Linked DNA regions of Homo sapiens: region 2 is linked to region 1. Evidence: promoter capture Hi-C in human tissues and cell types (Jung and others, 2019). All regions are on one chromosome and are shown on one strand. Each heading gives the region's core, a stretch centred on a gene start or on the middle of the fragment in contact. The rest is flanking DNA. Distances are from core to core; before and after follow the strand shown.

The links. Contacts are between HindIII fragments. The study calls those that stand out against the background at their distance.
Region 2: a fragment that was not itself captured here is called in contact with the fragment with the promoter of COX20 in region 1 in 1 of the 25 tissues and cell types used here (ovary).

Annotation. Positions count from the first base shown.
Region 1 is chr1:244,833,883-244,836,997 of GRCh38, reverse strand. It overlaps COX20 (cytochrome c oxidase assembly factor COX20), which reads right to left and starts at 1,340. Exons shown (of 4, transcript NM_198076.6): 1 at 1,242-1,340. The coding sequence starts at 1,283. RefSeq lists silencers at 987-1,276, 1,317-1,366, 1,607-1,946 and enhancers at 1,447-1,566, 2,107-2,166, 2,670-3,115. The HindIII fragment of the contact is 9,754 bases long and covers 1-3,115 here.
Region 2 is chr1:244,041,685-244,044,867 of GRCh38, reverse strand. It overlaps LINC02774 (long intergenic non-protein coding RNA 2774), which reads right to left. Exons shown (of 12, transcript NR_033883.1): 10 at 1,319-1,445. Among named protein-coding and RNA genes, the nearest start is that of ZBTB18, 8.0 kb to the left of the region's middle. The HindIII fragment of the contact is 5,750 bases long and covers 1-3,183 here.

The sequences.
Region 1 (3,115 bases), core at 91-2,590:
TACTGTGTGTATGCAAAGATCTTTTTTTTTTTTTAAACACTAAGCTTATTCCAGATGGGCAGTGTATGGGACAGTAAAAACAGATAAGGCACCAGTAGTACGTAAACTGACAACCTGTTGGATATTAAGTATGAAAACAATTTATACAATATTTGTTAATATTAACCATATGATCTGATGTCATGGCCAAATTTGGATGGAAGCCCACCAGAGAAGCAAGCAAGAGCAAGAAGTGAGCAGAATTTCCAAGCTGGGAGAATATCTTAAGTATATATTAGGAGCCATTTAGCACACAGTGGGTCTTCTATAAATATTTGCTCGTGATTAGCCAATGTTACGATCTCCCTAGTTTATATTAAACTTTTTTCCTCTTGCATTATTCTTTTCTGAATACCTGTTCTGCCCTGAGGATATAAATTAGGTTCCCTGCTCTTAATAAGGAGCCCAGGAAAAGAGGAAAACAAGATCATTTATTACCTTCCAATATGATAAATGTAACGACGTACAAGATGCCTGGGAAGATGGGGAAAGTACGTAAGTCAGCTTTGGTGAAACACAGGAGCCCTTCCAGGGAGAGCGCTTGGTTTAGCTTTACTATACCAAGAATTTGGGTTTTATCCTTAAAGAGATAGGATGGGCTGCTACGACTGGATGTTAGGCAGAGGAATGAAAACTGTCCAGTTTACAGGCTGGAAAGGGCCAGCGGACAATAGTGGAAGGTGGATTCAGGAGAGTATGGAGACAGGGACACCAGCTAGGGAGGCTACTGGTGATGGGGAAGAAATCTTAACCCTTCATCTCATCGTAGTACAATCAAGTCATCCCTCAGCAATTACTCCTATGTTAAATGTGATGAATACAACGTGTTAAAGACAAGGCACCTGTCCTCAACGGAGCTTTAATCTCTACTATTAGCCTTTACTAACAAATTACAGTGCAGTGCCCTTAGCAGCAAAATTTTCTCGCCAAAGATTCAGTATTGTTAGCTTATTTCATAATGACCTGTAGTAAGTCATTAGTACTACTGGTCCCCTCCTCCCCCTAGTTTTGGTCAATTTTGTCCCGGCCACTTAGATTAAAATGTTGGAGGCTTGGGATAAGGACTAGGAACAGTTAAAATAGTTTCAAGCCCATGGGTGGCAGAGAAGCCAGTGACACGTGCTCCGGGCCTAGGAGCTCCGCGGAGAACGTCCTTACCCACCGCCCACCCGCGGCGCGCGCCCCGCCGACCCCCAGGTTACCTTCCTCTCCTCGGGCTCACCGGGCTCCGGCGGGGCGGCCATGAGGACTACTCCGCGACTCCACCCGCCCTGCACCGCCGGGGTCGCGGAAGCAGAAGCCCGGCTGGCCGCGCCCCTCCCCGTCCCGCCCCCACGCGCCGCCGCCTCCCGCCCTGTTCCGACGCGCCGGCCGCCATTTTAGGGAATGTTCCTAACGCTCCGCAGTGGCCGCACGGGGCCGGGCTGTCATGTCCTTTGTTCCGTCGAACGGGTCACACTTTCTTCCAAGCTCGGCACACAGCCTGCAGGGGCGGGAGAGCGGAAGGAGATGGGTTCGGAAAACAAACCGACTCCTAGATTCCTGGCGAGGTGGGGGCGTAACCGAGCCAGACAGCCCCGCTTCCCGCGCCAGCCCCCTGCTCCGCCCCAACCGCCATTTCTAACCGTCTCCGGCGCGCGTGCTCACACGCACGAGCCTCGGGCGCGCGCCGAGGGGCGGGGCCGCTGCTTTGTCCTGCGGGGTGGGCCCCACCGCGGGGGTCGGCCCGGCCCCAGCCCCCAGCCCGCCCCAGCCCACCGACCCGGAAGGCGCTCCGCGCTGGCTCGGCGGCCCTCGTCCCCTAAGTGTCCTTTGTCCTTCCGGCCACGGGACGAGCCCTTGGTGCCGGGGCAGCCCCACTCTGCACCAGCAGCCATTTAGTCCCCCGCGCCTGCCTTGCGCAAACGGGGCTCCCACGCCCACCCCACTTCCTCCCTTTTATAGTTTCATTACTAAGTGGCTTTAACATAGAACCGCGCAGTTCGCCTAAAGGAGACTGGGGACAAAATGGAGGGAGCAGCTCGCTAATGAACATGCGTCAGCACGTTGGTGTCCGCGGAGAGGGCGCGCGTGTGGCGAAGTCTTCCGGCGTCCCCGAAGGAAAAATGCCTCTGCAACGTGCATTTTTGATGTGAAGTCGTGTTCCACGTTTCACTCCTCCCTAAGACTGCGACATAACGTGAAACAAAATACTGCATATTGTCGAGCTCAATGGAGAACGCGTGCATGCAGGGTCGAGCCCATTTTTCAGCCATCAAAATAATACAATGCAATTTTTTCTAGTATTTATAATTTTTCCCCTTTAACTTTATGCCTCCTTTATGTACTTCTACATTTCACGTTTAGGTTATATGTAACCTAAGGGCACTCCTTAGGAAACTGGACTTGTAGAATATGTCATTGTGCAAAGTCATGCTGCTTCGAATTATGCTGCGCGCTGGCACACAGCAAGCGCTCAGTGTTAACGATGTCGAATTCATATTAAGTACTGTTCATTGGGCGTTTTCTTACTCCGTAAGGACCTTACTTGCATGCCCATTTGATACCTTTCTACAATCCCAGTAAAATACACAGTTAAGGTTGTGTATTTATGTGTCACATTTTTTTTTTTGAGGTTTTTTTTTGCGGGGGCGGGGGGGGTTTTTTTGTTTTTGTTTTTGAAATTGTAGTTAGAAACTACATACTGTGCCGGGCGCGGAGGCTCACGCCTGTAATCCCAACACTTTGGGGGCTGAGGCGGGCGGATCACGAGGTCAGGAGTTCGGGACCAGCCTGGTCAACTTGGTGAAACCTCGCCTCTACTAAAAATACAAAAATTAGCCTGGCGTGGTGGGGGGCGCCTGTAATCCCAGCTACTCGGCAGCCTGAGGAAGGAGAATAGCTTGAAAACGGAAGGCGGAGGTTGCAGGGAGCCGAGATCGTGCCACTGTACTCCAGCCTGGGAGAAAGAGCGAAACTCCGTCTGGGCGGGGGGAGAAACTACATACTGCTCTACTGTTTGCTAGGGAAAAGAAAAAAAGTCACCCTACTGGTGATATCCTGCCAATTCTGGATTCTCTGCTGAAATTATAATGCT
Region 2 (3,183 bases), core at 500-2,999, 790 kb after region 1:
ACAGGGAGCATATTTTATATAGCATCATTCTTAAAATACATATTTTACGTATTTATAATTCTCTATAATACAGTCTAATCTTATCTGTAAAATATATTTATAATTCTGCAAAGCACTTTCTATGTCAAATCATTCCCTGGGTTATAAATTCTGTGATACTTGAATCTATTAAATTCCTAAACTATGGTAAGCCCTAAATTGGAGATAATTCAGCCTGATTCTCAGCCCTGAAGATAGAAATAATGTCATAAACTCTTGAGAAGTCCTTAGCAGATTTGCAGCAGGCATTGGTGGTATGCCAATGAAAGCAGAATGAACCTACACCAGTGATTCAAACCTGCTGAGGCTTAAGGGCAGAGGGGAGCAAAGGATAGTCTCCCTAAAACTCTTTTTCCTGTGTAGCCAGTGTTTTGTTGCTTACTGTAAATCAGTGCTTTTACAGACAGCATAATGGCTGAAGGAGGCCAATACTTCTGGCTTGGTTGGGACTAAGACAGGCCACTTCAGAGAATTTAGGAAAAAAGCAAAGAGGTGTTTCAGTAGCCACCCAACTCACAACCCTCTTCTCATTCTCTCTCCCCCCTCTATCTCCTCCAGTCTCCCCATAAAATACATTATACGTTACAGCATATGGAAGAAAAAAATGCACACAATGATGGCTTTTCTTGTTAACTTTGTACTATAAATATATTCATCATTCACTTTGTATATAATCCCAGGCCACTTTTGAACCCCAGGCTGGCTGGCTTCCTTGCTACACAGGATGCCTTTGTATCATTCACTGGTGGGAGTTTAATCAGTTAAAAATTATTTAAAGGCTATCCTAAACAAAACAAATTTCTAAAGGCAAGTCTACCATCCTTAAGAATCACATGCCTTCAAATACCAGATGTTGGAGTTAATCTGTGGGGTTGAAGGCTGCATTACTTTGGATAATTAAAAGATACACTCGTTTCATCTGTGGGCTTTTTAAGATTTACCATTTAAAATAACCCAACTAAACATGTGACTTCCAGATGAGTAAATTCTACTAAAGAAAGATTTAATATGAACCTATGATATTCAGAACCCCTTCTTCAATGATGGAAGTCTTCAGGGGTATCAATTGTGCTAAAATGTTGTACAATATTAGTAAATAGAAGTTGTTTTATTCAAAATGAGAGGATAAGACTTCTAAATATTTGAATGCTAATATTCTCACTTGTATTACATTGCTTAAATTGGAGTTTGTAGAAATTCGGGTTGCAAATGAACTTAGAAAAGTTGAAATGAACAGAACAAGAGAGGTTACCAGGTAATATTGATGCCTCACACCTACTGTGTGTTAGCTGCTGTGCTTCGGACGCAAAGATACAAATAGCGTCTGTCTGTCTGTCTGCATTCTCCTCCAGGGAGAGATTTTTCCTTTCCTTTTGTGCTTGCTTCACTCTTGAATGCAGCACCTTCTTGGATTTAAACAAGCAGAAAGGAAAATGATACATCTAGAAATTATTTACTAAGAACTTAGTATATGTTAGAGAAACACGAAACTGCATTATCATGGTTCTTGTTAAGTTTCCACCATGTGCTGGGTGCCAACAATACATGAAATAATATCATTCCCTCTTATATCTTCATTATGTATATATAAATGTCATTGTGAATCCACTGGACAAAGATGAGATTTCATTTTTCTTTCAGAGACTAATATGTTGCTGATGCCTAATAAGTGTTTACCAATCTTAACTACTGTAACAAGATAAAATTGTCTTAATACAACTCTTTGGTTATAAAGAAATTCTATAAATTTAACACAAAAGTCTTGATACATACCAAATTCAAACTATTCCCGGTAATAAGAGCAGACAGAAGGTTAAATTTCACTCCAGAAATTTACTTCGCCCTTAGCAATAACATGCAACTCAGGAAGTTACTTCTCTTACAAAGAACTAGCATTTATGCCTAAGACTAAAATGATTATTTTTAAAGTACCCATTTTACAATGCAAATGTGTATCTAAATTAAACTCAGTAAAAATAAGCATTTTAAATTGAAGCTGCAGTAATAGCTTTATGGGAGACAATAGGAAAAGTGGTTCTTGAATATGAACTCAGAGAACACACATTTCACATTCCTTCTAGGGGCCTTGAAGCTTTCTTTGTTCTCTGTCTCTGTACATAAATGTCACATGTTTTAACTGAAAACCCATTGCTCTGAAGTAACTTTACACAACTGAGGCTGTTCAGCAAGGTCATGGCAAAAAAAAAAAGTTTGGGTTCAGAAAAAGAAATTGGACTCACAACTGGTGTACAATGCCACGCCGTACCTTAGCACTTGGGATATGGGACAGATGCAGGAACACAGGCTCACTAAAACAGACAGTGACAAGAGACTGCATAACAAAGACACATGCACAATAGGGCATTTTAGAGACAAATGACAGACAGAGTAGAGCAATATATGGGACAACAGCTTTACAGGGATGGGAGGGCTGTAAAGAATGGTGAGAAGATGGTGACAGTGTAGAAGAAGGATAACGGAAGAGAGGTAAAGAGAAGGAAAGATCCCACTGGGAAGTGGTCTATGGTAGAGGCCATGGTGGTGGCAATGGTGCTGGCAGAGTTGGTGGTGGCAGCAGCAAGGTAAATAAAGCAGAGATGTGAATACTTCTTCCTGGGCTCTGCTGATGTATGCCACTATTTTTTGTCTTGCAAATTATTCTTAAATAATACTTCATGAAATAGCTGGCCCCAAAGTAAAGAAGACTAGAATATACTCAGTTGATTTTGCCAAGAGAGCACTTGATAAAAGAATAAAGAATTTTAAAAAAATAATGTAGACTATACTCAGTATTTAACTCTTTCCAGACATGAGGTTGCTACGATCAGGGCAAGGCGTGTGTGTGTGTGTGTGTGTGTGTGTGTGTACTCACATGCACACTCATATACCTAAGTTACTAGTTTGGCTGGTTTTTCTGGTAAGATTGGCTTAATATGAACTAGATTTTTCTTAATAGAGATAAGAATTTCATAGCACATTCATTGCGTAGTTTTAGGTTGACCTTATAGGGAAATTGTAGGTATGTATTGACATTTCATTGAGTAATTTGAACTATTTGTTAACCTAACTAATCACATTTCAGAAATAAATTCATTCCTTCAACAGCCACTGAATCCCTATCATGCATCAGGCCTGGTTGGAATT